2 separate regions of the Homo sapiens genome follow, and region 2 is linked to region 1. The links are contacts of gene promoters, found by promoter capture Hi-C in human tissues and cell types (Jung and others, 2019). All regions are on one chromosome and are shown on one strand. Each heading gives the region's core, a stretch centred on a gene start or on the middle of the fragment in contact. The rest is flanking DNA. Distances are from core to core; before and after follow the strand shown. Region 1 holds the start of APOBEC2 (apolipoprotein B mRNA editing enzyme catalytic subunit 2). Region 2 has its middle 31 kb from the start of LINC00951.

Evidence for each region. The method cuts DNA at HindIII sites, captures the fragments that hold promoters and counts their contacts. A contact is called where the count stands out against the background at its distance.
Region 2: a contact is called between a fragment that was not itself captured here and the fragment with the promoter of APOBEC2 in region 1, in 1 of the 25 tissues and cell types used here (dorsolateral prefrontal cortex).

Annotation. Positions count from the first base shown.
Region 1 is chr6:41,050,371-41,057,253 of GRCh38, reverse strand. It overlaps APOBEC2 (apolipoprotein B mRNA editing enzyme catalytic subunit 2), which reads right to left and starts at 4,052. Exons shown (of 3, transcript NM_006789.4): 1 at 3,776-4,052. The coding sequence starts at 3,906. The HindIII fragment of the contact is 7,265 bases long and covers 3,114-6,883 here.
Region 2 is chr6:40,321,964-40,328,846 of GRCh38, reverse strand. No RefSeq gene overlaps it. Among named protein-coding and RNA genes, the nearest start is that of LINC00951, 31 kb to the left of the region's middle. RefSeq lists an enhancer at 6,258-6,780. The HindIII fragment of the contact is 3,516 bases long and covers 2,553-6,068 here.

The sequences.
Region 1 (6,883 bases), core at 2,803-5,302:
CTGGTGTCGAAGTCCCCTCACTCCTTATCTCACCCTTCTCCTCTGGACACTGCCTCTCTGTGTTCCTTACATGGCTAGAGTAAACTACTGGTAGCTAAAGAAGTGGTTAGAAGAAGAATCACTCTGTGTGCCATTTATCTTTGTTCCATAATAATCCCTGGGATAGGAGGTTCTGCTTTCTGTAAAAACATATACAACATAACTAGAGACAAAGCCAAGCTCACATCAAGGGTGCTGCCAGGCAGAGCCACAGTCACTTCTCACTGGGTTGGAAAGCTGGGGAGACAACCAGCTCTCGTGCCCCAGAGCTCTACTAAAACGTGCTGTGTCCAGAAGCAGGCATGAGCCAGGGGAATTCTTACCTAAATCTAGTGTTGCTGGATCGTCATACACCCTGAGCTGCTGTCCTCAAGAAACCCTCCCCCAGTTCATTCCCTGTCTTGTCTGACAGAGAGCCTAAGAACCACCCAAAAGGTTCTTATTCATTAGGTCATTCATTTATTCAACAAATACGTATTGAGTACCTATCAGGAGCTAGGTGCTAAAGATAAAGCAGTGAAAAAGACAAAGTGCTGTCCTCATAGAGGTTAAATACTAACAGGGGAAACAGGCAGTAAATGAAAAACTCTTATTCAGTAAATATAAAAAGAATCCTCTCTGGTTTTTTGGATGCAGTGTGATGATTTGGAGTCAGACAGTCCTGGGGTTCACATCCTACTCCATCAACAAGCTTTGGCCATATGACTTAATCCCTCTGAGGCTTAGTTTCCTCACCTGAAAGAGTGAGTAATCTAACTTCTAAGGTTTTGGACAACAGTAGACACTCAAAGCTAGTCTGGGCACAGTGGCCCACGCCAATAGTCCCAGCACTTTGGGAGGCTGAGGCATGAGGATTGCTTGAAGCCAGGAGTTTGAGAGCAGCCTGGGCAACACAGTCAGAACCCATCTCTATAAAAATACAAAGATTAGCTGGGCGTGGTGGCATGCACCTGTAGTCTTAGCTACTTGGGAGGCTGAGGCAGGAAGATCACCTGAGCCCGGGAGGTTGCGACGACAGTGAGCTGTGATTGCACCACTGCACTCCATCCTGGGCAACAGAGCAAGAAGCAAGACCCCATCTCCAAAAAAGAAAAAGGAAATTGATGTATGATACATATGATGCCTTCTCCAGGCCTCAAATTGTATCCTTCAGAGCTCCGTCTTAAGCATTACCAAACCTGATCCCTTTCCCACTGCTCTTCCTCTCACTTTCAGAGGTTTCTGGTTTTCAATGGTGTGCTGATAAGTGTAACACTCATCTCTCTGATAGAAGGAAGAATCCCCAATTTCTAAAGTTTGCTGATTTCCATAAGGTAAGTACTCCCATTACAGAGATTTCAAGCTCCCGAGGTGATATCACTGGATGCAGAGTAGGGAAGAGACTTGTGAACCAACAGGAACTGGCTTCAGCACGCTACGGCAGGCTTAGGCCCTTTTCCAGAACATTCTACCATGTTATTTTGTTAATGTGCTCAGTTCCGCTTTCTATCCTGAATGCCCTATTCAACCAGAATCGCTATGAGCTGGGCATCTCTCCTTCCTACCAGCTACCCTCCTCATGTCGGACTGTTTCCGGAAAAGCTACCTGCTCTTCTGCTAGTTTTTGGCCCAAATATAAGGAGCACTAAAGATCTTCCCTATAGGAGACCAGGCTAGAAAAGCTGCTTTGCTGACCCCCTTGACTCCAGGAGGGAGTCCTGGGGGGAATGCATCTCAAGAGGGAAGGAGAGGAAAGCTATTCCCTCACCCTCTCCCTGCACAGACCCAGCTGCACCTCTGGGCTATTTTAAGCCATCTGTTTACCCAGAGGGGCCCAGGAGACAGCTCTCTACAGCTGTTACTTGTGGCCAGGAAACACTCAGCGCTCTGCTCCCACCTGAACTGTTCACAGAATGCTCAGAACGTTGCCCCTTCTGTGCCCCTTTTTCTGAGCCTTGGGTCCTCACTACCTCCCAGATAGAGATAACGTGGAGCTCTGGGAAACCTGGGATCCAGAATGAATAAGAAACCAGTAGAAAGGATACTTTGCTGGGAGTAAGAAGATGTGCCACCTACCAGTTCTGTGGTTTTGGACATACCATTCAATCTCTCTGAGTCTCAGTTTCCCCCTCTGTAAAGTGGCAATAATATATCTCCCTCTCCTACCTTTGTGCTGAGTGTTGAATGGTCTCATGTTCATGAAACTATGTTGTGATTATAAAGCCCTGGACAAATGTAAGTTATATCAGTGGACTTAACCCTTCAGGATCCATTGCTCTGGGACCCCCAAAGCATGTTCAGCTGAACAAACATAGTCTAATTCTGTTCTTGACCTACCCTCCCTCTGTGTTGGAAAGCCACACAAGAGTGTAGTGTGCACACGCGTGTGTGTATGACTAAGGATAGCGTATACCAGCATGCTTAGGTGTTAGAAAAAGGCTCTCCTTCCATAAGAAAGCCACTGGAATTGAGGACTCTCCTGGCCAGGCTGCCTTAGGCTTTCCCTGTGTCTATATTAATCTGTGCCCAGCTGCTCCCTTAATCCTAGGATGAGGGTGAGATTAGTTGGGTGGGCATGGGCAAATGGAAATTCAGGGGCTACTCTTGCCTCAGGAAATAGGATGCATTTTCCCTTAGGTTCTCTTGAAAATCAGAAAACATCTGAGCTGGAAGGGACCTTACTACTATAGATCTTCATGTTATAAGTGCTAAAACTGTGGCTGACTGGAAAATCACTTGTCAAGCTTGAAATATCAAGTCCAAATTGCCACTCAGGGCTTCCTTTCCCCCTTGAAAGCATCATGCCTCCTTTCTTCCTGAAACTTCTCTTAGTCTCGCACCCACTCTGCCTGTGGTCATTCCTGGAGACCCCATGAAGGGAACGTTTGGTTCAAGGAGGAAATATGGCCTCATAGATTCTCTTTTTATTCTTTGCTCAGGATTTAGAAGGGTCTTCCACTACAGGAATAGAAAGGGAAGAGGAAGAAGACTACTTAGTTTTATTCCTGGAGATGGCATAATCTGGATAAGACAGAGGTACCCTGCACACAGCCCCCTCCTTGCAGTCTGTAGACCCTTTTCTTTGGGTCCCAGTTCCTCCAGGCAATGCCTGAGCATGTTGGAACAGCTCCTGTGTCCATAAGCTCCTGGGCTGCGTTATCTGCATGTAATTTCTCTGTTTCTCTGTGGGACAGCCCCTGAGGAGACTCAAAAGATTTAATAAGAAAAAAGCTGCTTCTGAGTCTTGGGAAAGGATGGATCTATCTTTCCTGTCTTGGGAGCATCTACTCCAGGAAGAAGCTCTAAAGAAAGGGCTAGAGGCCTATGGCTAGCGGAGAGACCCACTCAGGAACAGAGAAGTTGAGGGGAAGGGTTGCTTTGAACGGAGCCACATATAGATGTGCCAGTCTCATCCTCTGTCCTCGCCAAACTCCCTGGGACTAAGCTTCTACCCAGAGAGGCAGGTGGCCATCCCAATACCAGGAGGCCTGAAGGGTGGTTTTATTCTCTGGGCTTTTGCCTCCAAGGAGCTCCTCCTACCTCTCCCTGATTAGAGAGCCCAAGGTGTCACCCTGAGAAGCCAAGAGAATTTGCTGCTGGGTCCCCTACCACCCCTGCCGGGCCCACTGGTGCACTCTCACTGCTGCAGGGTTGTAGCTGTCCCTGACGCCTAATATAACCATCCTGAATTTCCACAGCCTAACCCAAGGCTGCACTCTTCTAGGGAGCAGAACCCTGACCCACATCTGAGGCTTACCCTGTGACAATCTCAAAGGGCGGCAGCTCAATCAGCTCTTTCAGCTTCTCAGGGTCGTCCAGGTTCTCCAGATCCTCCCCATTCTGGGAGGCAGCCTCAGTGGCCACAGCAGCCTCTTCCTTCTGGGCCATGGAGGGGCTGTGGCTCAGGAGTCACTGAGGGAGAGGAGAGAGGCAGGCAGGTCTGGGCCAGGCCCTGGCGGCAGAGTCCCAAGCAGCTGTCAGCAGCTAAATCTGGCTGGGGATGACGGGAAAAGGACCCAGCAGGCCAGGCTTCGTGCTTTCCCCACTTAGCCACAGGCTTTATAGCCAAGGCCTCCTGCCCCTCCCCCAGGCTCTCTCCCTCTATCTTTTTTTAATTGAGTGACAGCGGGTGCTGGGGTGGGGGAATGGAAAATCTGGCCATTAGTATCCCCTATTTATCAGTAGGCAAAGACAGGAACCTGGCAGGTGGGTATGGCTTGGCCTGCTCTCTTCTCCCTCTCCCTCTCAGCTCACCTTATGTTCTCCCCTTTGTTTCCCACCCAAATTCCCTAGCTCCACTGGGGGAGAGTGTGGAAGGGGCCCCAGGGCAGGCATCCTGAGATTTAGGAGGGTGGCCTTCTGAGATTTAAACAGGAGGAGATGTGTGTTGAAAGGGGCTGACTGCAAAAAGACCCAGGCCATTTGCTTTGGGGGAACGTGGGTTCAGGAAAGGAGGGGTCCTGGCAGAGGTGGGATCAAAACTGACAATTTGGGGAGTAAGTGTGTGAGTTATGACTCAAAAGCGGTGGGTGCTGATTTGCCTGTTACAAAGCCATAATGTAATGTCAAATCGATCAGGAGCCTCCCTGAGTAACAATAGCTGCCATTTACTTAGCTCAGAGATTTTGAAACAGGCCAGGCAGTGGGTTTAGGGGTTTAAATGAAATCAGATGCATGCTTGCCACAGCCATGGGAGGCGATGTGTATTATCCCAAGTTACAGGTAAACTGAGTCACAGAAGTGTGCAGAGCCGGGATTAAAATGCAGGCTTTTGTACTTCAGGCCAAATATTCAACCTCCATGCTATGTGCCCTCACAGTCAGTCTTTTATTCTTCTTAACAAATATTTATTGAGTATCTACTCTATGCCAGGTGCTGTTTCAGGTACTGGGAATATGGCAAAAGAACAAAGCAAATGAAAATCCCTGCTGTGATGATTTGTGGAGCTTGAGGAACTGAACAACAAATAAGGTAAGTAAAATACATGGTCTATTTTGTGATGACAAGTGCCAAGGAGAAAAGACAGGAAATGGAAACAGGAAGTGCTAAGAGGTGGGGTTACGTACTTATAGGATGGCCAGGGTGAAGGACTTTGAAAAGGAGACAATTGAAGAAGACGTGAAGAAGGCAAGGGAACTAATCATTTGGTTGTCTAAGAGGAAAGCGTTCCAAGGAAGGGAACAACGTGAGCAAAGGCTCTGAGAAGGGAGCATTCCTGGGGTGTTTGAGGAACTAGCGAGGACATACATCTGGGTGACTGAAGAGTTCTAAGAGATTAAGCCAGAGAGATAACAAGGGTAAAAGGGACTGGGGCCTTATGGGCTGTCATAAGTACCTTGCTTTTTCTCAGACTGAGGTGGGAAGCCATTGTCTCTGAACAGGTGAGACAGGTGGTCTGAGCACTTGGGAAGAGCAGAGGCAGGGGACCAGTGAGAAGCCTACTGAGGCCAGAGAGAGATGATGGGGGCCCATAGAAAAGACCCTGAGCCGGAACAGCAGCAGAGGATGGCTAGATGATTTTTGCAGCTCTCATGATGGGTACTTAGCAGAGGCAAAAGTCTTCGTGTTTGGAGCAGTGCAAACACTCTAGGCCATTCTCAGGGAAGCAGAAGGAAGGGGTCAGGGTCACTTGTAGGTTGAAAATGAGGAACCTAAGAACACTGGGGAACGGATCTGAAAACAGCTCCAAATGGGTTTGGCTGGTGGGGATGAGAGGGTAGGGCACCCTTTGGAGGGTCTGACTAAAGAAGAGGAGTCAAGATGGTTTGGAAGATTTAGGGCTCACTCCTCCAGAGAGTCTGAGCAGCAGAGTGCTCTGTTAGTGTGATGCCCAGCATTTTGGTTTGCCAGTCATGGTTTCTTCCTGTTGTCCAGACATAATTACTAATAGCACCCCTTTACTCCCAAAGGTGTCCCGCTGTGGACAATAAATTATATGGTCCCCTACCTTTTGGATTTACTACTAAAAGGATTATTATTATTTATTTTTTGAGATGGAGTCTCACTCTGTCACCAGACTGGAGTGCAGTGGCACGATCTTGGCTCACTGCAACCTCCGCCTCCCGAGTTCAACCGATTCTCCTGCCTCAGCCTCCAAAGTAGCTGGGACTACTGGCATGTGCCACCAGGCCCAGCTAATTTTTGTAATTTTAGTAGAGACAGGGTTTCACCATGTGGCCAGGATGGTCTCCATCTCCTGACCTCGTGATCCGCCTGCCTTGGCCTCCCAAAATGCTGGGTGGCATGAGCCACCGCGCCCAGCCACTGAAAGCATTTTTATCTGGATCTTATTTTTTCAAACATTTTTCGGGGGGAATAAAGCACTGAGTAGAGATAATAGTGCCTGTGTCCACAATAAAAAGACAGTGGCAGCTGATAAACTGCAAAGAATGTTGTTATCACACAAACATACCACGTTTAAATGTAAAGAGTTTACTTCATTTTCTTGTTCAGTCAACATTTATCAGAGGTTCCTATGTTCCAGGTGCGGTGGTAAATACCAAGAGTACAGAGATAAATAAGGTGCTGGCTCACCAGGGGATCCCAGCTTTTATCATATTTGGGGCATTAATCAAGCATTCAAGCATGCATTATCTCATTTAGTCCTTACACCAGTCTCACATGGGTGTGAATTATGGGCCTCATTTTGCAAGTTAGGGACTTGTGGCTGAGAAAGGTGAAGTGATTTGTATAAGATCACACGGGCTTTGAGTTCAGGTCTTCAGAGCCCAAGTTCAAGTTTAGCCTATTCCCAGGGCTGCGCACAGCTACCTTTGATGAAACATCTCTGAAGCATTATAAATGTGCATCCCTCTCACACTTCCCAGGCCCAGCTAGGGTGATATGCTTGGATCAACGGAGGAAG
Region 2 (6,883 bases), core at 3,061-5,560, 730 kb after region 1:
CTTGCGGCCAGGTGCAGGGGTGGCTGCAGCATCCTTACGGAAGAAAGGGAGGAGAGGACAGGTGGGCCGGTGAGCTAGATAAGATAGAGGAGGGTCTCTAGGAACAAGTAGAGGAGTGGGGAGATCACTGCATTGGCAGTTTCCCCAGCACAGCTAGGAGTGGTCCTTCTTCCATAGATCCCAGTGAGGGGCTGTGGCTTAGCTTAAAAGCATGAGAAAAGTTGGAGGAAGCCCAGAGACTGCTCCCTTGTGGAGAGGAGGACGCCACTTGGAGGTGCGTCAGGGAAATGCTTAGGCAGGAGGATGGACGCAGAGGTCCTAGAGGTGTGTGACCTGGGAGAGGGACATTGGTGCAAGGCTCCTGCTCACACATTGATGGAAGCCTGAGAATCGAGAGGCCCTCCAGCGAGGGAAACCAGACCGGCTTTCTCCGGCAGGGAACGCATACTTGGAAGCCTCTTGATCCTCCTCTCTGCTCCAGCCCTTACCGTGAGTAGGTCTTCAGCACACTGGATACCATTTTGTGCTTTGAGATGTTGGTGAGGGACCTGGAGGGGGCTCAGGCATCCTCTGGGGTATACACATCTGTTTCCAGGTGACATCTCTAGGACATCACACCCCGTTCACAGTACCTCCTCTATCTGCCCCCAGAACCCCACTCTTCCTGTGGTTTCAGAGATTAACTGGCGGAAGGGGCAGGTGAGAATGTAGGAAGTGGGGAAATCTAGGGAAGGTGGGTGGATGAAGCCAGCCAGCTAGGAAAGTGCTGACCCCAAAGGAGCCCCCCATGAGAGGCCCCCCTCAGCAGCCCTGCCTCCCACACCAGCCCTCTACCCTTAGCTCTCTCTAAAACAACAGAAAATCTTGCCTGGCTCCTCTCACCACCCAGCCCAAGAGAGGGAAAGCTTTCTTTTCTCTTTTCCTTCCTGCCCCTTCCCCATTTCTGGCCCCATCACCCCTTTCCAGGCCTCTATCCTTCTGTGTTCATCCTGACCTCTTCCCTGGCCTCGTGGCTCTCACTTTGAGAGTCAAACATGAGCTGGTTGGAGGAACACTGGGTCAGACATCCAGGGACCTGGGTATGCTGCTGATTTCACCACTGATGTTCTAATTTCTGAAAGCTCCCCAGAGCTCAGTGTCTTCACTTGCAAAGGGTTGGGAGGTTGGATTGGATAATCTGCCACAATCCTTTTAGTTCTGACATCCTGGGATGCATTAGGCTCCGTCAATCCTTGGCGACCCCTTTCCTAAAGCTGATCCCAGGGTCATAGTTAGAATGCATCAACTGCCTTAACTGATGTGAGACATTTCCTAGGGATATAGCCATATGGGAGATAACCTAGAGGAAATGTGAAAAGTATCCAATTCCTGAAACATCACTGTTTCCTCATGCCATGTGAGGAATCCCCACCCACAGAAGTCATCTGCTCCAGCCCCTGCATCAGGCCCAGAAACCAGAGCAGACAGACCCTGCTCACACTCTTTCCTTGCTTGTCATATGACCCAGGGACAGTATCAGATAGTTCCTGCCTTTACAGCCCTCTAGGACTTCACATTTCCAGTCATCCTCATGCCTGGCCCCTTGTGGGACAAGGGAGGGGTCTACCAGGGCCTCCTGAGCAGGGGGGCAGCCAAGGGAAGTACTTAGTTCACCAGAAGCCTTCATCAAGTTTCACTTCCTGGAGTCTAACTTAAACCTTTCTTGCTGCTGTATAAATCAATGTCCCCCAGTTCTGGCTTCCCCACCCTCCTCAAACTAAAGAGCTGCTCATTTGCATACAGCTGCCTCTCCCAGACCCATTTAACTCCCACCTCTCCTGGACTTTTCCTACAGGTTCTATTTTTTTCAACCTTTCATCATTTCTCCTATTGGCTCTGGCTGTGCTCCAGAGCTTCCAAATCCTTCTTAAATGTGACAGCTAAAATTAGATGCCGGGAGAAGGCCAAGTGCAGTGGGATGATCACACCCTGCCTGGCATGTGCCGATTCCTCCTTCCTGGGTCCTGTCCCAGCATGGAAGAGGCTGGTCCTTCCCTAAGGATGTTATTAGACTCCCAGTCCCCTATGATCCTGGGTCCCGTTGGGTTTCTCCTCACCTCCCCCTGGATTGATGAGGCTTGTGTTGAATTTCTACAAGCCTTGCCTTGTATTTCACCCATCCTGAATGGATCATTTTTCTAATCTGTCAAGGTTTCCCTGAATTCTATTTCCGCCCTCTTGGACTGGGTGTTTTCCTTCTGGTGCTCCAGGATAAACCATGATCTCATTCTAAGATGTTCTTAGCTGGTCCTGGGTTATTCATTAGTTCACTCACTTGTTCATTTAGTCAACAACTATTTACTCAGTTTTTCTTTTGTGCCAGCTACTGTGCCAGGCTTGGGGATGCCTCCATGGAGATTGCAGCCTTAAACTGGACAAGGGCCACTCAGGGGCCTGTGGAAGAATATAAGAGGGGTCTCACTCTGTTTCTGGGAGAAATCATTATAGCATATAGCAACTGTGTTTTGGTAATACCAGGCTATGATGTGTTTTTATTGTTGTTGTTGTTGTTTGTGTGTTTTTAAAATTAACCTCTGAATCTTGGTATCTTAATACAATAAAAATTTACTTTTTGCACATGTAAAGTCCAGTGTAGGATGTCTGATTCTCCAAGGCAGCTGTCCTCTCCTTGAGGATCCCTTCTGTCCACTGATGTCATGTCAACATGAGTGGGCTTCAGCTTACTGTAGCAGGAAAAGGAGAACTTGGAGAACTCACACCTGGTTTTAAGTGCCTTGGACCAGAGGGGATCCACTGCCCACAGCCCATTGGCCAGAACGGGTCACATGGATGGGTTAACTTCACCTCAAGGGAGGCTGGGAGATATAACCTTGCCACGTGCTCAGACAGAGGAAATGGGGAGGTGAACACAGAGCATTGTCTCTGCCATAGCAACTCAAGTGGCTGGATCCCAGAGAGAAAAGGTCGGGAGTGGCCATTACCTCCAAGATATAGGTTTAAGAACATGGTAGGAGGGGTTCCCAGAAGGTGAAGAAGATGAAAAGAAATGTGGGAACAGGGTGAAAGAGGTGGAGAGGAAGCAGAGGCGCTGTTACCCACAACCCCTCCCTCGCTTCACACTGACTGATTCCAGCAGCCAGGGACCACACCTTTTTCCTCAGCCACCTGTCTGCAAAGCAGCTCTTGGTCCTACAGAGGAGGGCTGGGACAGAAAGCCAGAGAGATCCTACCCAGGATGGGCAGTCAGGGTAAAATCCTTGGCTGCATCCCTAGCCAGGTCCCAAACCAGGTCCCCAACCAGGTCCCTAACCAGGCTGCGGGATCCTGAAGAAGTTGCTTCACAATCTCAGTACACAGTGGTCTGGAAATTCCCTGGTATTGGTCTCCTGCCTGTTTGTCCTCAAGGCCCTTCCTCGAAACATACAACCACCCACCCTCCTCTGCAACTCCAGACTCTATGCCTGTTGGGTTCTGTTTCCCTTGGGGGAGTTTAGGGTTTGGGGGAGAAGCTGCAGGTGTCTTTCCTGCTCTCCTTTCTGGGGAGGCTCCTCTGGCAGTGGCCTCAGCTCCTGACCTGTAGGCTGGCATGGTTCCAGCTCTCATGGGTGGCCCTGGCTCCCAGGCACTGTCAACACCACTCCCCTGCCACCAGCCCTCGAGCTGGCAGGAGCTTCTTGAGGTTGCTGATTTTGAAGTTTCTTCACTGTCCCACTTGGCTCTTGGCCCCTCCAACACCTATAACCAGGTCACTGCATTACCTTCCTTCTGTCATGTCCTGCCATTAACTTGATTTCTGTTTTCCTGTTTAGACCCTGACTGCTGTACCATCTACATGGCAAGACCCTGGTGGGGGAGAGGGAAGGAACAAGAGGAGAGAGAGTGGATGCTAACTGAGGCAGAGAATATGAAAAACAGAAATCAGATACCATCGGTGGTCTCCTTCCTACCCAGCCTTTGTGATCTCCACCACCTGCACTCACCTTCCAAAGGGCTGTGTCCTCCACATCGGCCCTTGGCCATGGAGGGCAATAAACATGCATCAGGGCAAGATCTAGCTGCTGCCCTCCTGGGTGGGTCCCAAGGCAAATGGTAAGATAGGCAGAGTTGAGCCCTCCAAGTGAGAACAGAATTTTTCTAGAACTTCCCGCAGGCAAGGCCTGTGTTGCCTCATCCATTCATAACCCCTGTGCTGGGGAAGCTTTGGGGGAGATGTTTTGGAACAGGTAGGGCTTCGCTGCATCACAAAAATCACCCCCAGGAAGGCGACCAGCTTCTCAGCCAACTCGGTGGACTAAAGCTGCACATCCATCCAAGCCCAGCTTATGGCGGCCCCAGCAGCACAGGCAGCAGACAGCCTGAGTTCTCTGTATGCAGAAGAGCAGCTCTGAGGTGGGGCAATAAATAAAATCAGAAACCGTAAATAAACCTGCTGGCCTCACACAGGGTGAACAAGCAGCCCCCTGGGGAGCTGGGCTCTGCTTCCAAGGAGGTGATTAAATTCCAAACCACCCCAGCAACTTCCATTGGAAAGTCAGGGCCGGGACTCTGGGCTGGGGGAGAGGGATACAATCATAAAATATTAGAAAACTGAGATCTTAGAGTGAGGATCAAAACTTTAAAATTGTAAGGGATCTTCTCAGTGGCTCTCAACCCTGACTGTGCATTACAATCACCAGAGGTGATTTGTTTAAACATAGCAATGCCAGACACCACCCCTCCCAGTCCCTGCAGAAATTCACTCCTTAGGCTGGATGGGGGCTGAGCACCTCAGATGATTACAAAATATTCCCCAGGCCAGACGCTCTAAGCTCTGCCGCTAGGGAACTCAGGGGTTCCCAGAGCAAGGTCAAGGGTTTCCTCCACTAAAATTGAATCATGCAGCTCTTTTTTTCAGTGCACAAAAGAAATCAAGTTAATGAATAGAATGTTCTGTATTTAAAGTCCTCCCCCTATAAATTTTTCTCTCCTTTTGGCACCTGCTGCTGCATGCTTGCCAGTATATTGGTGAAAAAACAATAGGAACAGAAAATCTCAGAGGCCACTGATCATGTCTGCTTTGATGGCTTTTTTTTAATTAAAGGTAACATTTCTAGGCAATATAAGCTTTGGATAACTAAATCAGATAGCAGTCCCCTCGAATCCTCTTTAGAGCAAAGTGGGTTAGGTGTAAATAAATAGGATTCCATCTTTTGCTGAACCTCAACTTCTAGGTGGTACAGCTCCACCAGGGGTCAAGATCACAACTCCCAGAACTAGCCTGTTGAGGGGTGAATGTCAACTCTACTGCAAATGAGACACCTGGCCTTGGGTAAGCTAACTAGCGTCTCTGGGCCTCAGCTTCCTCATATAAGGAACAGGGATAAGACATAGTCCTCACCTCATGTGGCTGTTGTAAGTACTAAATAAGTCTGTATATTTAAAGCTCTTTCAGCAGCACCTGGCAGTAATGCTATTTAGCTGAACACATTTGAGACTCCGTGGGAGTGTGGGACAGCAGAGTTAGTACCTTCAGAGAGGATGCTTTAGTCAATAAATTCGGTTTTCTTCCATTACTTTTTAATCACCCATTAACACATGGATCATTCTCATTTTTAAAATCCAAACGATATAGCAGATTAGAGTATTAAAAAGTAACAATTCTTCAGTAGTGACATCCCACCCTGATCCTGCTTCTTCCTGGGGGTGGGTAACCACTGTTCCCCTAGTGGTATATACCTCTTGCTGAAGCTTTTCCTGGTATGTTTACAGTCCTGGGAACACACAGGAGACTAAGACATATCCTGTTTTCTAGGGACTTACATTCTGGAAGGACAGACAGACAAGAAAACAAAGCACAAGAGAGAGTGGGGACTGGTAGGAAGAGGCATCTAATAAGAGGAAGCACATGCAATTTCTGACTTTACCTGTGAGGAAGGTGGCAGAGGGATTCTGGTGCCAAGTCAGGAGCTAGACCAGTGGTTCTCAAAGTGTGGTCCTCGGACCAGCAGCAGCTGCACCTGGAAGCTTTGCTAGAAATGAAATTCTCAGGCCCACCTGGAACTCTAAGTCAGAAGCTCTAGAATGGTGGGGAGGGGGTGGGGGAGCAGCTTGAGTTTTGTCAAGCCCTCCAGTGGATTCTGATAGACCCTGAAGCTTGAGAACCACAGTCCTAGAAGAACTATTGCCCTCTAAAATCATTTCCTCAGACTCCCTGTCCTCCTGCCTGTAAATCGAGATGGAGGGACCCGGCCGGAGCGGCTGTGGAGCTGCCCAGGGGAGACGTGCTGAAGGCTGTGAGCGCGGTGCAGAGCCAGCTGAGTGGAGCACTGAAAGGCACAGGGCAGCCCAATGGGTGAGGGGGAGGGGAGGAGTCATTGTACCCATTTTCCCTCCGGGCCTGACCTTATCCTGGGAGACTTGTCTCAGCCTCTTCCCTTTGCTTAAGGAAACTGCCGCTGCAGACTGCTTAACTGATACCTCTGGGGGACTTTGCAAAGTGCACACACCATCCATTATGAATGAGCCCATTTCTTGTGCAGATCAGGTGGGAGTCGGGACAGATTAGCCCTGGTAATGGAGTTAAAGTCAAGCTATTTGTTTGCAAGATTATTCGGAAGTCAGAGTCCCTTCCTGTAGCTCTGTCTGTTGGGAACGGAGCGGGGGATGTTTCCTTGGTTAAAAACATGTGTTGTGTGCGTGCCTGCCTGGGTTCATTCATGCGAGTACATGTGTATTTTTGCATAGACATTTTTAGGAGAGAAAGAGGAATACAAATGTCTTGTTCCAGAGCCTGAGACCCTGACTTGGTACAGTCATGGCTGGGACCCTTCAGCCTCCCCGCTTCCATCCCTGCCCAACCCAGGACCCAGTTCTGGCCCTGCCCCCAGCCTGATGGGCAGTGAGT